7 separate regions of the Homo sapiens genome follow, and regions 1, 2, 3, 4, 5 and 7 are each linked to region 6. The links are contacts of gene promoters, found by promoter capture Hi-C in blood cells and fetal thymus (Javierre and others, 2016). All regions are on one chromosome and are shown on one strand. The core of a region is centred on a gene start or on the middle of the fragment in contact, and the rest is flanking DNA. Distances in the headings are between cores, read along the strand shown. Region 1 overlaps LINC02794 (long intergenic non-protein coding RNA 2794). Region 2 overlaps SPATA6 (spermatogenesis associated 6). Region 3 has its middle 19 kb from the start of LINC02794. Region 4 overlaps TRABD2B (TraB domain containing 2B). Region 5 has its middle 15 kb from the start of TRABD2B. Region 6 holds the start of SLC5A9 (solute carrier family 5 member 9). Region 7 overlaps SPATA6 (spermatogenesis associated 6).

Evidence for each region. The method cuts DNA at HindIII sites, captures the fragments that hold promoters and counts their contacts. A CHiCAGO score of 5 or more calls a contact.
Region 1: a fragment that was not itself captured here is called in contact with the fragment with the promoter of SLC5A9 in region 6 in 1 of 17 cell types (monocytes); the score reaches 5.1 in monocytes.
Region 2: a contact is called between a fragment that was not itself captured here and the fragment with the promoter of SLC5A9 in region 6, in 1 of 17 cell types (neutrophils). The highest score is 5.0, in neutrophils.
Region 3: a fragment that was not itself captured here is called in contact with the fragment with the promoter of SLC5A9 in region 6 in 1 of 17 cell types (neutrophils); the score reaches 5.0 in neutrophils.
Region 4: a fragment that was not itself captured here is called in contact with the fragment with the promoter of SLC5A9 in region 6 in 1 of 17 cell types (neutrophils); the score reaches 5.0 in neutrophils.
Region 5: a contact is called between a fragment that was not itself captured here and the fragment with the promoter of SLC5A9 in region 6, in 2 of 17 cell types (monocytes and neutrophils). The highest score is 5.7, in monocytes.
Region 7: a fragment that was not itself captured here is called in contact with the fragment with the promoter of SLC5A9 in region 6 in 2 of 17 cell types (neutrophils and monocytes); the score reaches 9.4 in neutrophils.

Annotation. Positions count from the first base shown.
Region 1 is chr1:48,060,084-48,063,312 of GRCh38, reverse strand. All of the region lies in intron 4 of LINC02794 (long intergenic non-protein coding RNA 2794), which reads right to left. Among named protein-coding and RNA genes, the nearest start is that of LINC02794, 12 kb to the right of the region's middle. RefSeq lists an enhancer at 1,728-2,272. The HindIII fragment of the contact is 2,187 bases long and covers 778-2,964 here.
Region 2 is chr1:48,444,659-48,447,958 of GRCh38, reverse strand. All of the region lies in intron 3 of SPATA6 (spermatogenesis associated 6), which reads left to right. It also overlaps the pseudogene RNU4-61P. Among named protein-coding and RNA genes, the nearest start is that of SPATA6, 26 kb to the left of the region's middle. The HindIII fragment of the contact is 199 bases long and covers 1,400-1,598 here.
Region 3 is chr1:48,029,435-48,032,538 of GRCh38, reverse strand. No RefSeq gene overlaps it. Among named protein-coding and RNA genes, the nearest start is that of LINC02794, 19 kb to the left of the region's middle. The HindIII fragment of the contact is 7,414 bases long and covers 1-3,104 here.
Region 4 is chr1:47,972,719-47,976,117 of GRCh38, reverse strand. The region is part of intron 2 of TRABD2B (TraB domain containing 2B); the gene reads left to right. Among named protein-coding and RNA genes, the nearest start is that of TRABD2B, 23 kb to the left of the region's middle. The HindIII fragment of the contact is 2,654 bases long and covers 1-2,654 here.
Region 5 is chr1:48,010,431-48,013,727 of GRCh38, reverse strand. No RefSeq gene overlaps it. Among named protein-coding and RNA genes, the nearest start is that of TRABD2B, 15 kb to the right of the region's middle. The HindIII fragment of the contact is 941 bases long and covers 953-1,893 here.
Region 6 is chr1:48,220,953-48,224,321 of GRCh38, reverse strand. It overlaps SLC5A9 (solute carrier family 5 member 9), which reads right to left and starts at 1,606. Exons shown (of 14, transcript NM_001011547.3): 1 at 1,424-1,606. The coding sequence starts at 1,585. The HindIII fragment of the contact is 4,425 bases long and covers 356-3,369 here.
Region 7 is chr1:48,462,263-48,465,620 of GRCh38, reverse strand. All of the region lies in intron 1 of SPATA6 (spermatogenesis associated 6), which reads left to right. Among named protein-coding and RNA genes, the nearest start is that of SPATA6, 8.3 kb to the left of the region's middle. The HindIII fragment of the contact is 2,171 bases long and covers 335-2,505 here.

The sequences.
Region 1 (3,229 bases), core at 622-3,121, 160 kb after region 6:
CAGAGATCTTCTCTTCCTCACTACAAAGGGTCAGCTAAGTCAAACTTAAGAGGAGAGAAAATGAAGGAAGGAACAGCATCTGTGCCTGGCTTAAGTCTGTGTCTCTGTAATAATCAGACACTTTACATATACTTTCTCATTTCATTCTCTGAAGAGTCTAGAGAGAGGTATTATTTTCTCCATTTGGTTGACAAATAAGCTGAGGCTTAGGGAGGCTTGCCCAAGTCCTCACAGCTAGTGACTATCAGAGCTGGACTTTGCAACAAGGCCTTTCCAGCTCCAAATCTGTGTTCTCTCCCTATACATCTCCAGACCCTTGTCTTTGCCCACAAGAAGCTTACAGTCTAATTTCACTGCAGATCCGGTGATATTTCATCAGCTTGCTAACCTGGGATTAAAAGTCATGAATCCTGTAATTCTTCTGAGCTGCTGGACACCAGAACTGCCAAACGACAGCCCAAGGAGTATTTGAAACACAACTTATGTGACTAGCTCCTCTTGCCAGGTACATTTGTGATACCCTACGTCTGAGGAATGACCACCTAAATAACAGAATTTCAGGCACAGGACAGAGAATATATTCTTAGGTAGGAAGCCATTCCAGCACTTGTCAAGCCTCTTCCACCTGCATATGAGCCCACACTTGGGCCTGAAGGCCACCAACACTCTCCTGAGTCAGGCCTGGTCAGGTTCACTAGATGCCAGACTAGGTCACTGGGTATTAATCATTGCCAAGGGAGCCGTTAAACTGAAAGCCAGTTCATTAAAGATTAAGCTTCATCTCCATAGCCCTCCAGGAAAGGGAGTTTTGGGTAGGGAGCCAGGCCCTATTCCAGGAGGTCACCTACTGTGAACAGGAGGCATCAGGAGCATCTGAGTAGAGACAATGTTTGAGAGAACTCTGGGGGCTCCTGAACCTTTGTCCTGTGTCTGTATCCATGACTGCTACTTCAGGTGGGTCTTCAAGAGAACTAGCTATAAACTCTGAAGTGGAGAAGGACCTGCAATGTCAGGTTGTCTACAGGGAATGAAGGGTTAGGAGGCCAGTCTCCCTGGAAAGCATATGGTAAGGAGTCAGAAGGCCTGGATTCTGGTCCTGACTCCATTCTCCATCTGCTGGGGGCCTTGCACAGGGCAGTTCCCCACTCTGAGCTCCTGTTTTTTCCTTTGATGAATGGAGAAAACATTTGATAAGTGGATTTGTAGTGATGCTTTAGCATGGGTTGCCCTGCGAATGATCTATACATGTTTGCCTTCCTCAGTCTATATTAGCTCTGCACCCCCAGGCTGTCTGGCCCAAGTTTCACTTCCTGTTCACAATCTCTGTGGCCAAGGAAAGTTGGCAGTAAATCTCAAATTCACCATGAGCCCTGAATTGCAGAGATCAGATCTCTCTTCCTGGCTCCCCACACTGGACAGATTGCATCTGCCTACTGGCCTAAGAAAACTCTGGAGGAAACTCCTGTGAGCTCACTAAACCTCAAGAGTAAGAATTCCCCATTTGGTCAATTCTTGGTACTTACATTTAGATTATCCCATCCCAATGGAATCTGTTAAGCCAAAGTTTTGCAAATTCTGCAAAGATACAAGACCTTCACAATTTTGATCCAGTACTAAAGCAATGATACAATATGTACTGAGCCAATCAATAAATGGATACAGAATCATCTCATCTCTTATACAAGGTGCCATGGTGATTTCAGGGCTCCAGTGGTGGCCCCCCAAATGGAAATGGCACTATATGCATCCTGGTTTGCAATCAGTGATTTCTGTTAATGTAAGATGTCTGAAGATAATAGTGGTAAACATGATAGATTTTTAAATAGTAGGGTAATAAGGTGAGGGAGACTTTTGGGGCTGTTGACAAAAGCTCTCCTTGCTTTTTCTGCTGCTCTTTAACCAGGCTCTTTATGAAATGAATCTAATCACCTTTCTGTCTGTAGGTGGCAGCACTGGCCCCTTTCACTCTCCAAGGGGGACCTTGATTGTCATTTAGAACAAGTGCTCCTCTCAAGAGCAAATTACAGGACAATGCGAGGATAGAATAAGATAAACTAGCTTCAGAACAAATGTTCTCACACAGTTAAGATGGGATGCATCTGGTGAACTCACAAAACTTCTAAAGCCTCACTCCGCTTACAGAATAGCCCCTTCCAGATTCTAGTAAGAATACAGATCACCAAAAATGTTTTAAGGGACCATTGCAAAGATGAAAGTTGAGGAAGACTCCCCAGAAGCCCATAGGGTCCACAGAACCCAGCTTGAAAACCCTTGAGCAGGGGAACAGCAGACCAACCACCCGAAGACGACACAATTCTCTCCCCAGCCTGTTCTATAACAACCTGGAGTGTCTCACCTTGGGGTCTATTCTCTCAGATATTGCCCAAAACTTACATATGTTGAGTGCTCACTCTGTGCCAGGCATATTGCTAAGCTGGTTACATGCATGTGTCAATTACACCTCATGACAGGTACTTCCACCATCCCATTTTACCAAGAGGAATCAGTGGATCTGAAAGGTTAACTTCCCAGAATATCCAACCATCACCTTGCACAAATGGGAAAACTGAAGAGAGCAGAAGACTGTTGCTCAGTGTCACATGACAAATCAGTGACAGGGCTAGGACGCTGATTTCTGCTGTCCACGGTGAACACCTTAGAATGAAGGGTTTACGGGAACCGTATGATGATGCAGGACTGGGGCCATTGAAATGGGAAGAGGAGGACAGGAATGAGGCTCTAGGCTCAGGACACACCCAATATCTCCTATCAATAGTTTACCCCACCCTCAAAGAAAGTCCTGGGGAAGGAGTCAGGAACGCCCCTTGAATCTAGTGCCAGCTTTGCCCTGAACAACCTGAACAAGCTGTGTGGCCTCAGGCAAGTCCTTTCACCTTTCTGCGCATCTACACCCTCCCCAAAGCAGTGGTGAGTATCTAATGAGACACTGGTAGGAAAAAAGCTTTTAAAAGTATGAAAGCTCCCTTGAAGCTATTATTATTAATTATTATTATTATTACCATCATCATCTTTCATGGTTATTAATGACCTGTTACCTGCTAGGGATCTGTCATCTAGGAATTTCTTTAAGCCCTTCTTGAACCTGTTTATATTCACAGTCAGCAGCACCTCCCTTGCTTTTGATCCCCAGTCTCTAGCCCAGGTTGCTACAGGCAAGATCACTGGCCTATAGGCCTGTGTTTGAACAACTGTTCTCAGTCTTTTTTGT
Region 2 (3,300 bases), core at 250-2,749, 220 kb before region 6:
CGATACTGCCAATGTGCAAAGCTTAATACAAGCTTTTAAAGGTGTAAATTTCCATCTTCCCACTGACTTTGCCCTATTTCATGAGTTTTGATGTTATTTTTTGTTACCATTAATTTTAAGATATTGTCTAATTTTTTTGGTTTGATTTCTTCTTTGACCATGGGTTCTTTTGAAATAACTTATTTCCAAATATTTGGGGATTTCCTATATTTCTTTCTAAAGTTAATTCTAATTTAATTCTGTTGTGGTGAGAGAACATAATTTGTAGGATTTTAACTTTTTTACATTTATTGAGACTTGTTTGTGGCCTATCCTATGATCTTGAGGATGTTCCAGTGCACTTGAAAAGATTGTGTGCAGTTGACCTTTGAACAAGATGGGAGTTAGGGGTGCCGTCTCCCCATGTAATCGAAAATTCATGTATAATGTTTTTTTGTTTTGAGATGGAGTCTCACCCTGTCACCAAGGCCGGAGTACAGTGGTGCGATGTTGGCTCACTGCAAGCTCCATCTCTCAGGTTCAAGTGATTCTCCTGCCTCAGCCTCCTGAGTGGCTGGGACTACAGGTGCGTGACACCATGCCCGGCTAATTTTTGTATTTTTAGTAGACATGGGGTTTCACAATGTTGCCCAGTCTTGTCTGGAACTCCTGACCTCAGGTGATCCGCCCACCTTGGCCTCACAAAGTGCTGGGATTACAGGCATGAGCCACCGTGCCTGGCCACGTATAACTTTTGACTCCCCCAAAAGCTTACCTACTAATAACCTATTCTTGACCAGAAGCGTTACCAATAACATAAGCAGTCAATTAACATATTTTTTGTTATATTATATACTATATTCTTATAATAAAGTAAGCTAGAGAAAAGCAAATGTTATTAAGAAAACCATGAAAAAAGAAAATATATTTACTCTTCATTAAGTAGAAGTTCATCATAAAAGTCTTCATCATCATCCTCATGTTAGCAGGCTGAGGAGGAAGAGAAAGAGAAGAGGTTGGTCTCGCGTCTCAGTGGTAGCAGAGGTAGAAGAAAATTCGTGTATAAATGGACCTATGCAGTTCAAACATGTGGTTCAAGGTCAACTGTATTTTGCTGTCATTGATTGTGTTAATCTATGTCAATCTATTTCTGTCATTTAAGTTGATAATGTTCAAGTCTTGTGCATTCTGATTGTATTCTTTTGGGAGGGTTGGTTGTTTTACTGATTACTAAGAGAAAGGTATTTAAATGTCTAATTATAATTATTGAATTATTTCTTCTTTCATTAATATCAGGTTTTGCTTCATATAATCTGATGGTTATCAATTTATTGCACCTAACCAAATTCAATCTTCTTTCCTGTTCTGTGGAAATTGACTTAAACCCTTAAATTTTTTTTCTCTACCTGGCACTGAAGCTTTGTATATTAGAGGACCCTGAAGAAATACTGCAGGGGAACAGATTTTGCTTCCAGGTACCAATGTATTCATTTGACTTTTTCCAGCACCAGGCTTCTGAAGCCCTTGTAGCTTCTCAAGTGGCCAGGTATTGCAATACATGGTGGTCTGCAGTGTTTTTCCCCAGCTGGCCTCTCTTTGGATGGTTCTATAGTGAAGCTTCTGATGAAATACCTCCCCGTAAATAGCCTCCCTGCTATCCTAGAGGGAGAATTTCTGGCAAGTTCCAGAGGGCAGATTTTCAGTATATACCACTGGCACGGCAGTAGAGTGATTTCTTTTTCAGTGAGCCCAGACTGTACCCTCTCCAACAAGGTCTGATCTCAACACTGGGGAAGAGGGCTTATGTAGAGTTTCTTTGTTGGTACTCTGAGCCCTAGGGGTAATGGCTGCTTTTCTACCTGCTATTCCTATATTATTTTAAATTCTTTTTACATCTTCCTTGACAGTCTCTTCCTCCTTGAATACCCTGTTTTAGTTAACTGTTCTTTATATTAAACTTTTCCTATGTGGCTTCTCTCTCCTAATTGGACCTAGCGTGATGTATTTATTTTGAGGCTCGGTCTTGATTGCTTATACATTTATAATTGTTATATTTTCTTGAATCTTAACCTAATTTATGGCAGCAAAATTTATAGTAGCAAAATTGCAGTGGTCTCAGGCCTCACATCTTCCCCACCATATCCTTAAGAATAAATAAGAGGTCTGTGTTCCATACTTTTCATCAAGTCTTGAGGTTTATTCTAATCAAAGTAGAAAAGGGGATGTAGTATGCTGTTGGCATAGCCTATGTACACATGTTCTACCTTTCGTTCAGGTGGTACATGTGTTAGCTTTTTTTTTTTTTTTTTTTTTTTTTTTTGAGACAGAGTCTCACTCTCTCTCCCAGTCTGGAGTGCAGCGGCGTGATCTCGGCTCACTGCAAGCTCCGCCTCCTGGGTTCACGCCATTCTCCTGCCTCAGCCTCCCGAGTAGCTGGGACTACAGGCGCCTGCCACCACGCCCGGCTAATTTTTTGTATTTTTAGTAGAGACGGGGTTTTACCATGTTAGCCAGGATGGTCTCGATCTGACCTCGTGATTCACCCGCCTTGGCCTCCCAAAGTGCTGGGATTACAGGCGTGAGCCACCACGCCCAGCCATGTGTTAGCTTTTTAAGAACTACGTAGATCTGTAATGGAAGGGGAAAGGAGGGGAATAGATGCCCTGGCAGCACCTCATAGATGTTCCTACAATGTGTCTCCATAGTACTGAGCCTTTAAATTTAAACACAGAATGATAGCAGAAATGACAGAAATAACCCATTTAAATAAAATATAAAGTCAAGCCAAAATAATCAGTTTGGCTGTATGTCAGTGGAAGCAAAGAGAAGAATTTCAAGTAAGGAAAATTATTGAACCAATGTGGAATCTTCTAGAATTTTCAGCTACCTATTCTAGTACTGGAATTGAGTCATATATACATTTCCTATTGTCTAAAATACAAAACTAATATATGCTTATCTGTCTGCCTAAAATCAAAAATTTATTAATTAAAAATGTTATTAAAAAACAAATTGAACATGCTCCAGATTGTCAAGGGGACCCTAGCACCCCTTTAACTGGAAAGCCTATAAATGGTCAGATCCTTGAGTAACCCCAGATCAAATGATTCTGACAGTCCTTGTGTGTCTGGAGTTGGTTTCTTCTGGTGGGTTCTTGGTCTCGCTGACTTCAAGAATGAAGCTGCAGACCTTCGTGGTGAGTGTTAACAGCTCTTAAAGGTGGCACGGACCGAAAGAGTGAGCAGCAGCAAGATTTATTGTGAAGAATGAAAGAACAAAGCTTCCACAGCATGGAAGGGGACCTGAGCGGGTTGCTGCTGC
Region 3 (3,104 bases), core at 550-3,049, 190 kb after region 6:
TGTGTGGCCTTTTAAAAAAAATTGTTTTTAGGCCAGGCGCGGTGGCTCACGCCTGTAATCCCAGCACTTTGGGAGGCTTAGGCGGGCGGATCATGAGGTCAGGAGATCGAGACCATCCTGGCTAACATGGTGAAACCCCATCTCTACTAAAAATACAAAAAATTAGCCGGGCGTGGGTGGGTGCTTGTAGTCCCAGCTACTCAGGAGGCTGAGGCAGGAGAATGGTGTGAACCCGGGAGGTGGAGTTTGCAGTGAGCTGAGATCGCGCCACTGCACTTCAGCCTGGGTGACAGAGCAAGACTCCGTCTCAAAAAAAAAAAATGTTTTTATTAAGGTAAATCTATCTTTAAAAATTTACCATATTTATAATCCCAGCACTTTGGGAGGCCGAGGCGGGCTCCCATCTGTAATCTCAACACTTTGGGAGGCTAAGGCAAGAGGATTGCTTGAGCTCAGGAGTTCCAAGGCTAGCCTGTCAACATAACAAGACCCTACCTCTACTAAAAAAAAAATTAGCCAGGCAAGGCACGGTGGTGCATGCCTGTAGTCCCAGCTACGCAGGAGGCTAAGGTGGGAGGATCACTTGATCCCAGGATTTTGAAGCTACAGTGAGCTATGATCTCACCACTCCACTCCAGCCTGGGTGACAGAGTGAGATCCTGTCTCTTAAAAAAAAAAAAAATTCACAATGTTGCGCAACCATCACCATTATCCATTTCCAGAACATTTTCATCATTCCAAACAGAAACTCTGTATCCATTAAACAATAACTCCCTGTTCACTAACCCCCAACACACACATACCACTATTCTACTTTTTGTCTCCATGAATTTGCCTATTGTAGGTACCTCATAACAGTGAAATCACACAATATTTGTCCTTTTGTGTCTAGCTAATTTAGCATAATGTTTTCAAGGTTCATCCATGTAGTAGCACATGATAGATTTTCTTCCTTTTTAAGGCTGAATAATATTCCATTGTATGTATATACACATATTAATTTACCCATTTACCCATTGATGAATATTTGGGTTGTTTCAACTCTTTGACTATTGTGAATAACACTGCAATGAGCATTGGTAAATACGTGTCTGAGTCCTTGCTTTTAATTCTTTGGAGTACATACTAAAAAGCGGAATTGCTGGGTCTATGTTTAAGTTTTTGAGTAACTGCCATACTGTTTTTCACAGCAGCTGTACTATGGTATATTCCCACCAGCAATGATGTGTGTGGTCTCGAAGTAGGAGTTGCCTCCAGGGGTACCTGGCACCCTGCTTTGAAGATGTTCCTCAAAGTAATGGAAGCAGAGTGATGATGAGGAGGGCAAGCCTGGAGGAGGTGCTCAGCATGGGGAGGGCCCAGAAGCCACACTGAGGAGGCAGTGGAAGGCCCAGAGTGTGGGTCTGGCCAGAAAGCCCTGGAGGATGTGACAGCTGCCATTATATGTCCACCATGCTGCCTGGGGGCAGAGTGGGCAGCCCCAGAAACAGAGAGAAGTCTGGGGAGAAGAATTCTAGGGAAACTAGATCCATTTCCATATGAAGAAAAGGAAGGCTTTCTGAGAGTCAGGGCCATTCGGTGACATGAGCAGGGAGCTTTCCATCACTGGAGGTGTGCCAGGAGCAACTGATGGCCTTTTGGACAAGAGGCCAAAGGGCATAGGAGGTTGGACCAGATGGCCTCTGCGAGTCTGTAGAGCACTGTGTTCTGAAAGTGTGTGACTCAAGGATTCTGTAGCTGGATTCCATTTAAGCCCATTTGTGGGCAAAGATTCTATGACTTGCTATTCCTACCCATCCAGACAAATCCTGCCCTGGCTTCTCTATGTGAGCCGTATTGGCAAGGACCCCTTATTGGCAAGTACATTGCTCAGCCTAAGCAGAGGTGAGCTTCATTTCCATTTATTATGTGACTCTATACATTCCTGTGACTCCCATCTACATTTTCAATTGGAAATAATACCATATGCCTACAAAAAAGAAAGATGCAGGGAATGGATTTGGAAACCGTGCAGAGGTGGGCAGGGGGCAGAGGGAAAAGGTACAAGGAGCTTTCCTGTCTGGCCTTCAAGGGCATCCAGAGCCTGCCCCTTCCCCACCACCTGTGTCCCCCACCCCTGCCTCTGGCCTAGGTGCAGAACTAACTTTATCTCTGTCTCTGCTGGGCACTCAGCCTCCCTGCTGCTGCGGTGCTCTCTTTTGTACTCTTCTCTCCTTCCAATCCTTCAACTCACGCTCCCTGCCAAGCCTGCTTCCTGGGATACCTGCTCTGATTCTCTCCGCCTATGCAAATCCTACCCATCATTTATGGCTCACCCAGAAAGCCCACAAAGGCCTTCTCCCATAAAGTTTTGTATGCTGAGATGCCACTCCATGCAATCATTCAAAGATATTTATCTATCAAGTGTTCAGCACCAGGAGTGCTAGAGGCACTGGGGATATATCAGCAAAGAGAGTCAACATCATCTCTGCCATCACTGAGCTTCGATTGTAGCTGGAGACACCAGAAAAGAAATACGGAAGCAAATACACAAAATTTCTTGGTATAGAGATGATTAGTGTGAAAACGATAGAATAGCAGATATAACAGAGGCTACTCTGTAGAATGGTCAGTGAAGACCTCTCCAAGAAGTGATATTTGAGCTTGAATTATGAAAGCAGCCAGCCCTGAGAGGATCTGGAAGAAGCCTTCCAGGGGAGTACAAAGACAAAAGTGACAGACTAAGGTTAGATTGTTCAAGGAACAGGAAAGTGGCTACTGTGGCTGGATCATGGAGAACAAGACAGAGTGGAAGATGTGGCAATAGGAAGACAGGCAAGAGTGGTGATTTAAGACATGGTAAAGATTGTAATTGGAAGCTATTTGAGAGTTTTTTTTTTTTTTTTTTTTTTTTTTTTTAGGGACAAAATCTTGCTCTGTTGCCCAGGCTAAAGTGCAGTACCACGACAATAGCTCACTGCAGCCTCCAACTCCTGGGCTTGAGTGATCTGTTTGAGGGTTTTAAGCATAGGAGGGACATGATCTGATTTATAATGGCAAGAAGATGCCATGGCTGCTGCGTAGAGAATGGTTTGTAGTAGGAAAGGCTGGAAGCAGGGAGGCCA
Region 4 (3,399 bases), core at 78-2,577, 250 kb after region 6:
TACAGGTGGAGTAGGAGAGATGGGACAAGAATGCAAATGACACATGAAAAGGAACATGAAGCAGGGGACCTTGAAGGTCTGGAAGGTCTTTTCTGGTCTGGCCCCAGCTCAGCTACCAACCTCCTTTTCCATTGCCCCTCTAGGGAACCCCACAGCTGTACTCAGACTACCATCTGCAGTTAATTCTGGACTCTGTGCTTACCCTGGGGTGCCCTCTGTCCTTCCTCTTGTCACTCCAAATCCTGTTTCCTATTTCAGGTCCAGCCTGGCCCTTCCTGCAGGAAGGCCTCTTTGACTACCCCACTTCCATGATCAGTTTTCTCTGAACATATTTGCCATTTATAGTTTGTATTGCTTCATTTGACCCCTTAGAAGAGTCTTGTGTTTGGCCAGATTTGTGTTTGCCGCTCTAGGACAAGAGCTGGCTGTTAAGCCAAACCCAGGCTTGGGTGTGCAGTAGGCCCTCAGCAGTGCTTGTGGCTGAATGGACTTGAGAACAGTGAGATAACTGAATTCATCCTCAAAAAGGGCAAGATTTGTTATTTTTGTCATTGACCCCAACTTTCCTCACTTAGAACCACTGATGGTTCAGTTTCGGGTGAACCAATGTCTGCCTTTACAATGTTTCAGGTGCACAAAGTAATGATGCAAATGGTATGACCCAGACAGTGCTTAACAGACTTCAGGAATTCGTCTGTTTTCTAGTATCATGCTAAACCCTGTGCTCAGTAAATGCTTACAAAAAGACCTGAAAATATATGTGCAGCATTTATTACTGCACATTCATTCACCTAACAAATGTTTTTTAAATAAACTTTTAATTTTAGAACAGTTTTTGATTTACAGAATTATTGAGAAGATAGTACAGAGAGCTCCCCACACCCAGTTCCCCTGTTATTAGCATCTTATGTTAATGTGGTACATTTGTCATAATGAATGAACCTGATACATCATTATTAACTAAAGTCCATATGTTACTCAGATTTCCTCAGTTTTCCCCTAAAGTTATTTTTTTAATCCAGGATCTTATCCAGGGTACTGTATCACGTTTACTTATCATCCCTTCTTAGAATCCACTTGGCTGTGGCAGTTTCTCAGACTTTCCTTGTTTTCGATGACCTTGACAGTTTTGAAGAGCACTGTCCCTCCATAGGGATTTGTCTGATGTTTTTCTTACAATTAGAGTGGAATTGTGTGTTTTGGGGAGGAAGGCCACAGAGGCAAAGTGCTATTCTCCTCACATCATATCAAAGGTACATGCTAGCAACATGACTTATTACTGTTGATATTAACCTTGATCACCTGGATGAAGTAGTATTTGTCAGGTTTCTCCACTATAGAGGTACCCTTTTTTCCCTCCATCTTTTCATACTGCACACATTGGAAAGGAGTTGCTGTGAACAACCCATTCCTAAAAAGTGGGGAGTTAACTGCTCTGTCGTTAACAAGTGCGTTTTGAAGGCTCAGTCTGCACTGGGCACTGGTACAGATGCTGAAAATGTAGTGGTGAACAAAACATAAAAGATTTATTTTTCCTGCATGGAACTTTTATTCCAGTGAGGATTTAGCAATGAATTAATAAATAATTTTAGGTCATGATAAGGGTATAATGAAAAACAAAAATCAGTAGGCTAGAGAGGGACCAGGCTGCAAGTGGGTGGGGTTTGGATGGGGACAGATGCTTGGTGTCCTTGGGGTTTGGGGAGAAGGTGCCTTAAGAGCTGAATCCAGAAGGATGAGGAGGAGCCAGCCATGAACACCTGGGGAAGGCACATTTTGGGTAGAAGGAACAGCACGTGCCAAGGACCTGAGGCTGCTTAAGGGACAGAAAGGATGTAACTGGAGCCATGCATGTACAGGACATGCATGTCAGGAGATGGAGCAGAGAGGAGATGAGGTGAGATCTCACCTGGCCTACAGGTAATAGGACAGTACTTGGATTTTATTCCAACAGTGGAAGTCATTGGTTTGAAGCAGAAGGTGATCTAATTTACTTTTTGGAGGAGATGCAGACAGAATCTTACTCTGTTCCCTAGGCTAGAGTGCAGTGGTGTGGTGTGATCATGGCTCACTGCAGCCTCGACCTTCCAGGCTCAAGCTATCCTCCTACCTCAGCCTCCCCAATAGTTGAGACTGCAGGCACATTCCACCGCACCCAGCTAATTTTTGTATTTTTTGTAGTGATGGGATCTCACTATCTTGCCCAGGCTGGTCTCGAACTCCGGAGCTCAAGCTATTGGCCCACCCCAGCATCCCAAAGTGCTGGGATTATAGGTGTGAGTCACCGGCCCCGGCCTAATTAAATTTTTAAATGTAACATTGCTTTGCCTGTGGTATGCAAAATGGACTTTCCTGGAGAACAGAATAGAGAAAGCTGGGAGGCCAGCATGGACGCTATTAGAATAGTTCAGGTGGGAGACACTAGTGGTTGACCTGGGGAGGAGTGAGGTAGGTGTGGCTCTGTTTTGGAGGTGAAGCTGAGACATGACTGTTGGTTGCTTGTGGAGATTTCAAGAATCTGGGGTGGCACTTGCACATTTTGGTCCATGGTGGTGCCATTCACTGAAATTAGGGGAGGCTGGAGGAGGAGCAAGTACGAGTATACACACAGTACTTGTAAAATTTCAAGTACTATGTGGTTCATTAGAGAAGCTTCCTGGAATTCGTTTGTTGGCAACATTGTTAGTGGCATCTTCGGGTTACATCATCTACCTGGTGAGATTAGAATAATGCCCTGTTTCTTGATTCCCATGCCCCCTTTCTCCCCAGTAGTCCATACTATTGAAATAGGAGATGCAAATATCAAGTGTGCATGGCTGGGGACCCTGGATGTAAAGTGCACACCAGTTGCCAGAGACCTGGCTGCGGGGGCTGCCCCCTGCTGGCCCAGGCCCTGTGTGCCTGTCATTGAACTGTATACCTTCTAGCCTTTCCTAGTGTCCAGCCCATAGCAATTTATTTTTTCCTATCCCAGCTGCCACTAAATCAGCATCTCTTGGTTTGTGTTGAATTACTTCCACAGTAAAGTCTGTCAACAAGTATTTATTGAACACCAGCTATTGCGTAATGCTGTCTTAGACAGGAGCCATGATCTCTGTCTAGGTGGGTAGATAAGGCATACACAAGGTGAATGAAGTGTGTGGGGGCATGTCCAGTAAAGAGTACACAACCATGCACGTACAGTCCCCACAAGAGAGAAAGCACATGTCCTTAGAGATGCCTCATTTACTAGGAGGGATCCAGGAGGGCTCCCTGGAGATGGACACAGACTGTAGATCTGAAGGGCATTGAGGGGAGTGGGCCATGTCTTTGGGGTTTCTGTTAGAGAATTAGCGAGAGAAAGGATTGGAAAGGTAAATTTATGGACTTTGACTACCATGAGGGTCAAAAATTGGTGCT
Region 5 (3,297 bases), core at 174-2,673, 210 kb after region 6:
GAAAAATAGACAACTCCAGAATCATACTTGGGACTTCAACACTCCTCTCTTAATAATTGATAGACTAGGTAGACAAAAAATAAGATTAAGATAACCTGAAAAACATTATAATCAACTTGATGTCATTGGCATTTGTAGAACATTTCACCAAACAACAGATAAACATTCTTTTCATGGGTCCACAGAACATCTATTAAGATAAATCTTATTCAGTGCCATAGGACAAGTCTCAATAAATTCAAAAAGATAAAAATCATACAAAGTATGTTCTCTGACTACAAGATAATTAAATTAGAAATGAATAACAGGAAGAAATCTGGAACACAACCAATAATTTGCAAATTAAACAATGCATTTCTAAATAGCCCATGGGACAAAGAAGAAATCAGAAATGAAATTACAAAGTATTTTTAATTAAATCAAAATGAAAAAACAAATACCAAAATCTATGAAATGCAGATAAAGAAAAATATGTAGAATTAAAGGCATATATTAGAAATAAAGAAAGGATAATTAATGACCTGAGTTTACATCTTAAAACTTGAGAACAAGGAGGGAAAACTAAAACCAAAGCAAGCAGAAAAGGAAGGAAATTACGAAAATTAAAACAGAAAACGGGGAAATAGAATGGAGAAAAATTATGGAGAACATCAGTAAAGCCCAAGCTTGTTATTTGGGAAGATATAAATTTGATAAACCTCTGACCAGATTGACCAGGAAAAACAAAAAATAGAAGAGTCAGATTACTAGCAGCAAGAGTAAGAAGAGGGGATTTATTTACAGATCCATTTGATCATTTCAACAGATGCAGAAAATGCAAGGTTATAGAAACCAAGAATAACATACAACTTTTAACTGTATTTTACATACTTTCAAGGAATTGTTGTAAGTTGAAAAATTTTAAATACTATTTCTAAGAGCATTAAAAATCATGAAATGCTTTGGAAAAGCTTTTACGAAAGGTGTACAGATATGTACACTGAATAACTCAAAATATTGCTGAGAGAAGTTTCAGAAAATCTAAACAGAGATAAACCATGCCTATGGATTATAAGACTCAATATTATTAAGATGTAAATTCTCCCCTGATTGATCTAGAGATCATGACCATATCTATCAAAATCCCAGGAGACTTTTTGCAGAAAGTTGATTTTAAAATTTATATGAAAATACAAATAATTTGATAGCCAAACAAATGCTATAAAGCAATACCTGAGACTGGGTAATTTATAAGAAAAGAGGTTCAACTGGCTCACAGTTCTGCAGGCAGTACAGAAAGCATACAGGCATCTGCTTGTGGAGAGGCCTCAGGGAGCTTTCACTCATGGAGGAAGGTGAAGCAGGAGCAGGCACTTCACATAGTGAAAGCAGGAGTAAGAGAGAGAGAAAGAGAGAGAGAGTAGAAGGGAGGTACCATATGCTTTTAAATGACCAGATCTCATGTGAACTCAGAGCGAGAGCTCTCCTATCACCAAGGGGATGGCCCAAGCCATTATTGAGAGATCAGCCCCCATGATCCGAACGCCTCCCACCAGGTCCTACCTCCAACATTAGGGATTATAATTCAACTCAAGATTTACACAGGGACAAATGTCCAAACTATATCAAAGATGAAGAACAAAATTAGAGACTTAATACCTGGTTTCATGACTAAGTATAAAACTATAGTAATACAGTGTGATGTTGCTGTAAATGTAGATATATCTACCAATGGCACAGAACAGAGTCCAAAAACAGACTCACACAAAAATGATAATTGATTTTTGATAAAGGTACCAAGGCAATTCTATACAGAAAGGGTAATCTTTCAATAAATGTTGTCAGGCAAATATGTAGTAAACTAAAACATCATGGGGTGCTGAATCCCCTTAACCTTCAAGTGAAAGCAAAGCTTGTAATCACCCAGCCCACCAATGACTTACATCATATCCACTGTTACAGATTCCACGCCGAGTTCACTCCCAAGTGACCAGAAGATCCATCTCTGTTTCCCCTGGACTCAGGCTATTCAGGGACTGCCAGCTTTGGTAGACAGTGTTCTTCTGTTGCCTAAAGAAAATTCAGCAACTGCTGTGATGCAGCAAATGCCCCGACGGATGGAATTCTCCACTCATCCAAAATATAGGCAACCAATGAAGGGTCTAGATTTGCCTCACAAATCTCAGAATTGATGGTCTTTGTTCCCAGGCTACAAGGGGCTGTAGAAAGAGGGAAATTAAAGATTTTTTTTCCAGATGCTGTGAAAAAAACAAAAAAAGCAAATGGTGTTGGGACATAGATATATCCATTAGCAAAAAGGAAAAGAGAGAGAGAAAGAAAAGGAAGGGGGAATGACGAGGAGGAAGATGAGAAGAAAGAGGAAGAAGTGGGGAAAAGAAGGTGAGAAGGAGGAGGAAAGAAAAGAAGGAGATGAGGAAGAGGAGAAGGAAGAGGAACAAGGGGAGAGGTGGAGGGAGTAGTAGGACGAAGAGGAAAAGAAGCAGCGGCACCCTTGCCCGTGGTCCTTATCTCACAACTCATACAAGGTCCAAGTAAAAACTGATCACTGACCGAAGTGGAAAACCTAAAACTATAAAAATTCTAGAATAAAACAAAGGAGAGAAAATCTTAGTGACCTTGGGTTAGGCCAAGATTTTTTAAACAGAAGAAAAAATGAACAAATTATTAAAGAAGACCATTGATAATTTGGATTTCTTCAAAATTAAAATATTTGCTGTCCAAAAGACACCGTTAAGAAAATAAAAACACAAGCCATGAGAAAATATTTGCAAAACTATGTTTCACAAACCACTTGCATACAAAATACGTGAAGAACTATCACAACTCAAAAATAAAAAGCCAAACAGCCCAATATAAATGTGCAAAAGATTTGAACAAAGGCTTCACCAAATAAAATGTAAGAATGGCAAATAAGTATATGAAAACATGCTCAACACCATTAATCATTAGTGGCCAGGCACAGTAACTCATGCCTGTAATCCCAGCACCTTGGGAGGTCAAGGCAGGAGGATCGCTTGAGCCCAAGAGTTCAAGACCAGCCTGAGCAACGTAGCAAGATCTCATTTCTACTAAAAACTAAAAAATTAGCTGGGTGTGGTGGTGCAAGCCTGTGGTCCAAGCCTGTGGTCCCAGCTATGCAGGAGGCTGAGGTGGGAGGATCCCTTGAGCCCATGAGGAGCCCCTTTCAGTGAGCTGAGATGGCACCAGTGCACTCCAGCCTGAATGACAGAGCAAGACCCTGTTACAAAAAACAAAAAAACAAAAAGAAAAGAAAAAGACATATTACAATCACAGTAA
Region 6 (3,369 bases), core at 357-2,856:
CTCCCACACTGGAGGCGGGAGGACAGAGAGGGCTGCAGTTTGACTGTGAGACTTTGAGCCCTGAGTAGAGTTATGGGTACTGTTTTGGAGTTTCCCTTGCCCTGGGTTGAAATCAGATCACGCCACTGAGCCCCATCCAGGACCTCCCTGTCTTACACCAGTAGGTGGTCAGTTAGCAGCCTGTTGGAATATTCTCTGGAGATACAGGGTGAGGGCAGGGCAGTGGGTAGGGAAGGATGAACTTGAAGCAGCTATTCAGATGCAAAAGCCAACAGTTCTCTGACTTTCCCCTAAGGGAAAATAATCAGTCACGAGGGAGTGATAAATATGTGTGGGGCCTTGTGCTTGTTAAGCTTTTGCTTGTATTTTCCTTGTCAGCTCTGATCCTCTTGGAGGCCATACGAGCAAAACAGATCCATTTTACAGATGTGAAAATGGAGGCCCAACATTGGAAGCAATTTGTCCAAAGTCACAGAGGAGTTGGTGCTTTTCTCGGCTGGCCACTTCCAGGAGCCAGTGACCATCTGTTAGCCCAATTCTTCCTCACACCAGCACTAGAAGGCAGGGACTGTTCACCCCCCTTTATAGATGAGGAAACTGAGGCTCAGAGAGGGTCTCTGACCTGGCCACAGCCTAGGAAGTGACCATCTGGGACTTGAATCACAGCAGAGTCTAAAGGTGCTCACACTTCTGTGGAATGCGTGGTGATAATAGCAGCCATTTATTGCCTGCTGATCGGGCACCAGGCACCGTGCCAGGTGCTGCAGTATGTCCTGTTGCTGAATGATCACAGCATAGTCCTTATTCTCATTGTTCACCTGAGAAAGCTGATAGGCCTCATATGTTCCCAGGGACATGAGGCTCTCATTGTTGCAGCTGGGACCTGAACTCAGGTTTCCCTGACCCCAAAGCCTGGCCCCTGCCTCTAGCACTGAGGCTCCTGGGAACAATGGAGAACAGAGGAACCTTGGAATAAGCCTGGCACACTTCCCTGAGAGCACATGAGCCCCTTCTCATTTAGAAATCACCTTAGCCAAGATGCTAACGAATGCAGGACTGAGGTAGGGCCAGGGGTCAAGAGTTCTCAGAGTTGGGGGCCTTGGGGTGGGAAGAAGGAAGGAGTGAGGCTCAGGGCAACCAGGGATGGTTGGGGCCAAAGGCAGCAGGTGCTCAGAGAGGAGTCAGGAGTCGGGGGCCTGGTCTGCCTCTGACTCTCTGTGTGACCTCAGACCAGCCACACCCCTCTCTGCCCTTCTAAAAATGAGGAGATCAGGAGCCTGATTCCTGAAGGCCCTTCCTTCTCAGCCACATGGTTCTATGATCTGCTTCTTTCTGCCTAGCCCTGCCCCAGCTCCACAGCCCCACCCAAGCTGAGAGACCACTACTACCTCCCCTGCTAGCCCCAGCCTCAGGGCCCACTTACCCAGATCCCCACAGCAATGACGAAGACAAAGTAGATGACCACCACGCTGATGTCGTAGGCGTGCAGACCAACTCTGGAGTCCAGTGCTATGTGTGGAGCTGTCTCAGTCCTGACCCCGTCCCCTGAAGCTCCAGGCCCCATTGCTGCCAGCTCCTTGCTCATCTGTTAGTGTTGGTCAACAGCAGGCTGGACTTTGAGGCGCTCCTGGCTTCATTCCTTTCCTTTAATGATTAAACTGCCCCAAGCACCATTAGTTGGTGAGAAAACTCTGAGCCCTGCTGGCACATACAGTCCTGCCTCCTTTTCTCCCAACTGCCACCACCAACCCCTGCAGGACTCCTTCCTTCCTCTTCCTTGCTGCCACTACGTGCACACACATACATGCATGTGTACACACAGGCACACACATACACGCAATCTCCCTAACCCCAGATGAGCAGGAGGAGAAAGGAGGGGGAGGAGGAAGAGGAGAAAAGGAGCAGAATATTGGAACCCCAGAGGTGGGAAGGACTTCAGAAATCAAAGTGTTCAAACTCCTGTGTGGTGGGAAAACCAAGGCCCAGGGAAGTAAAGGTGGAGCCGGGACTGGAGTCCAATTTTCTTAAGAGTTCAATACAATTGTCTTTTACCTAGTGAGAGGAAGACAAGGGGAAGGAGGTGAGGAGTCTACTGTGACCCTAGCAAAGTGGCCACCACCTCATGTACTCCCATTCCAACCTACCTAGATGTTGCTTTCTCTTTTTATATAGTGTAGGAAACTGAGGCTGGGGAAGACATCATCATTTATTCCAAGGAACTAGGCAGGGCCATCTCTGAAAAGGCAGAGCCAGAATTCACATCTTCTGATGCCTGACCCATACTTCCTATTCTGTACTGTGACAGATGAAATGGTTGTGGTCAGGAGGCCTTCCCTGAAAAAGATACAGTGCTCCCTGGGTCCAGGGAAGACCATCTCTGGGACTCAGGCAGCCTAGATTTCAGTCCCAGCTCCACCTCTCACTGAACTACAGATGCCCTTGGGCAGGTTGCTAAATGTCTCTGGGCCCGGGTGTCCTCATCAGTGTGACCTGTGCCCTGCCTGCCTCACACCACCAATGAGGCTAAGATGTGCTCCTGAGAACCTCTGCAAACCCTGAGCTACTGAATGTTCTTGGGGTTAACACAAAGAAACCAACATCGACCACCATCTAGCCAAGGGGCCCAGATGCCACGCACTTAGATATCTGCTCACATGGTCCTTCCAAAGTAGCTGCATTTGGAATATTTCAGTCTTACAAATATTACTCTGCATGCATCTGCTGTAGGGCCCAGACTGGAGCAGCAGGAAAACAGATCTCACTGGCCCTGTCCCACACCCCATCCCCAGCTCTCACTGGCCCTGTCCCACACCCTATCCCCAGCATCTTATAAGTATCCCAAGGCTGGGTGTGAGGACCAGATCCTCTTTTTTCCCCTTTTGGTGGAAAGAAAAGTGAGAGGCAGGGTCCTAGGCCTTCTCTCCCCAGTTCTCCTATCCCAGAACATCAGGCACTGGCCAGGCTGAGCCCCGAGGAGAGGGATATTGATCTGGGAGAGAGGTCAGCATAGTCCCCAGCTGGACAGGGCTCTGTGGGATCTAGCACCTGTTAGGATTAGATACCAGAGGAAGAGTCCTTCATATACACGTTTAAAGGCAAGTTTATCAGACGAACAGGGATGCAGGAGGGGCAGCATTAGAAACATCAGGAAAATGTGATGGACCAGGTGCCCAGTGGTCCCTGGGGGTGAGCTGGATACAGGGACAGTGGGGAATGAGGCTGGCAGATCTCTGGGTGTTAATCAGGGAGCAGGGAAGGAGTGGTCTGAGCTTAGGCCTCTGAGCACACCATAGTGAGGGCTCTGGATCCGGATGACTCTTCCAGAGATGGGAAAAGGAATGTCGCAGGGAGAAGACAGCTGAGTCTTGT
Region 7 (3,358 bases), core at 171-2,670, 240 kb before region 6:
TAGAAATATGTATTTTCTTATAAAGTATTTCTGTATTTTTTCAAACTTTAATTAGGATATTGGTTTATTGTTTAGTTATATGTATAGGTAAGTTGAAAATATTTTCTGTAAAAGGATGATTTTGGGTCTTATAGAATGGTGACCCAGTGCTCTAGGGAGTAGATCTAGAAATGGAACTATTGAGTCTCAGGGTATCCGGTTAGTTTCCTAGGACTGTCATAACAAATTATCACAAACGTAGTTGCTTAAAACAACAGAAATTTATTCCCTCACATTTCTGGAGGCCAGAGTACAAAATAAAAGTGTCAGCAGAACGGTGCTCCTTTCAAAAGCTTTAGGGGAGAATCTTTCCTGCCTCTTCTAGTTTTTGATGGTTCCAGGCATTCCTTGGATTGTGGCTGCTTAACTCCAATCTTGGATCCTAGAGGTTTCCTTTTCTGTGACTACCAATATCCTTTGTCCTTTAAAAGTGTATTCTTGTTTTCTTCTTCTTGTTAAATATATTTTGGATACTAAACCTTTATTGGTTATGTGTAATGGAATTTTCAAAGATCGTCTAGTTGAAGTTTATATTTTACTTTGTTTTTGCTCTTTTTAGTACTGCATGTTTTTCATTTTCTAATTTTTTCGTTTCTGGTAAACAAAGAATGCTATTGATTTTTAAAATGATTATTTTACTTGACAAACTTGTATATATTTATTGCGTTATTGATTTTTTAAATTAAGTTTTTTATGGAACTATAGCATATATTCATAAAGTACACAAATCGTAAATGTATAATCACCAATAATTAGAATATTATCAGAACCCCAGATTGCTCCATTGGGCTGTCTCCCTCCCGCCACTTCACCTACCCCTGTTCCTCTCCCAAAGGTAACCACATCTTGACTTCTCTTACAATATATTTTGAAGTTTTGAAATCTAGCTATATCTATCTATGATCTGTCTATTTTGTATGGTCTGAATTCTTTTATGTCTAACCAATTTGTGGGAGTTTATCCTTGTGGTTTATGAGGCAATAGCCCTTTTTTCCCTTCTTAAATGAATATAACACTATTTATTCTTCCTATTGTTGATGGACATTCTCATTGTTTCTAGTTTGGGGATATTACAAATTGTGCTCCTATGAGCATTCTTGTATATATCTTTGTTGCACATTTTATATTTTAATTTTGGATGCAACATTAAATAACATGAAATAACATTATTTCAATAGTTGTATTTTTTATGTGGAAAATGACGTTGTTTGAAAATAGACAGTTTTGACTTTTGCAGTACAATCCTTTGTTTTGTTTTGTTTTGTTTTGTTTGCCTTGTCTTTATGTTGATGGCTAGAATTTCTAGTATAGTGTTTAATGTTAGGGATAACAAAGTAGGTATCTTTGTCGTTTTTTCTAATTTTAAATTATGCTTCTGAAGTCTCACCATCATTAGACCAAATCCTATGAAATCGCTGATAATGGGCCATTTTTTTGGCTTAAAAAAACCTCAGCCATTTCAAATGTAGTTGAACCTAATAGAATATTGGCTGTAGGGTTTTCATTTATTGAGTTAGTGCAGTTCCCTTCTATTCTAATTTTAAAAAATCCTGAATGTTGAGTTATTTGGGATGTTTTTTTTTAATCCAGTGAAATTATTATATAATAATGCTTTCATAGTCTGTAAAAAAATGACACTTTTTGATGTTGAACTATTCCTATTCCTGTAATAAGTTCTTTTAAGTCAGGATGTACAGTTTTTACTCTATTTTGCTGGATTTGGTTGGCTAATTTTTTATTTAGGATCTTTTATTTGTATTTGTAGAGAGATTTTAGCTTTATGAGTCAACTACTTTTTTTCACTTATTTTTAAAACATTTATTTTGAAATATTTCAGACATATAGGAAGTTATAGAGTAACATTTAATGAACACCTGTGTACCCATCCAGGTGAAGCATCCTGTAAATCTCTGCCTAATAAAATCCCTTTTTCCTTCTTCTTTTTGGCCAATCGGTATCCTGAATTTTGTATTTACCACTTCTCTGCAATTTGCAATATTTTTTCTCATTGTAATATCTGCCTTTAAGGCACTTGATTTGCTTCCAGTTGCTGTTTAACTGGCATCTCAAAGCTATTGATAATGTTTTAAAATCATTTGGCTCTAAATATTTTATAATTTTTATTATGATTTCTACTTTAGCTTATGAACTATCTAGGATTTGTTTTAATTCCAAGATGCATAAGATTTACGTGTGTGTAACACTCTCCCATACTCATACTCTCCCCCCTACCTATACACATACATACCTACACATATACATATATATTATCTTTTATTGTGGTATTTTAATGAATTGCATTGGGGTCATGTATTAGGGTTCTCCAGAAAAACAGAACCAATAGGATATACTATATAGTTATTTAATAGGGAATTTATTATGGGGATTGGCTCACTTGATGACGGCTTTGCAGTCCCATGATATGCTGCCTGCAAGCTGTCTGCAAGCTGCAGAACCAGGGAAGCTTGGTGATGTAATTCAATCTGAGTACAAAGGCCTGAGAACCAGGTGTAAGTCTTGGAGTCTGAGGGGTTGAGAACCTGCAGTTCTGTTATCCCAGGGCAGGAAAAGATGGATGTCCGAGCTCAAGGAGAGAGAGCACATTTGCCCTTAATCTGACCTTTTGTTCTATCCTTGCACTCAACAGATGGTATAATCCCTGCCCACATTGGTGAGGGTGGTCTTTGTTACTCAATCTGCTGATTCAAATACTAATCTCTTATGGAAACATCCTCACAGACACACCAAGAAATAATGTTTACCAGCTACTCACGTATCCCTTAACCCAGTGAAGTAGATACATAAAATTAACCATCATAGCTAGTGAACAAGGTCTCTATGTTATTATGTTTGTTATTTCCTTTGTGTCCTGATACTTATCCAATTGTTGTAAATGCTCTCTACTTGCTTAAAATAATATATAATCTCATTTGTTGGATGTATGGCTCTATCTGTCATTATCACACCAATCTTACTTACTCTGAAATTCAATTCCATATTAAATTTTTTGTCTGCATGATCTACCCATTTGTAATGGAGAGGTATTAAAATCTTCACTATGATTATGTATTTTCACTTTATCCTTGATGTATTTCAGTACACTGTGATGTATAGAGCTGTGGATTTATTTGTTTATTCTGTTTTGCACTGGGTGTATGCTTTCCACTTCAGAATTTAAGGTTTTCTGTAGTTCTTGAAAATTCTTAGCTATCATATTATTTTTTATTTTTTGTTATTATTGTACTTTAAGTTTTAGGGTACATGTGCACAATGGGCCGGTTTGTTACATATGTATACATGTGCCATGCTGGTGTGCTGC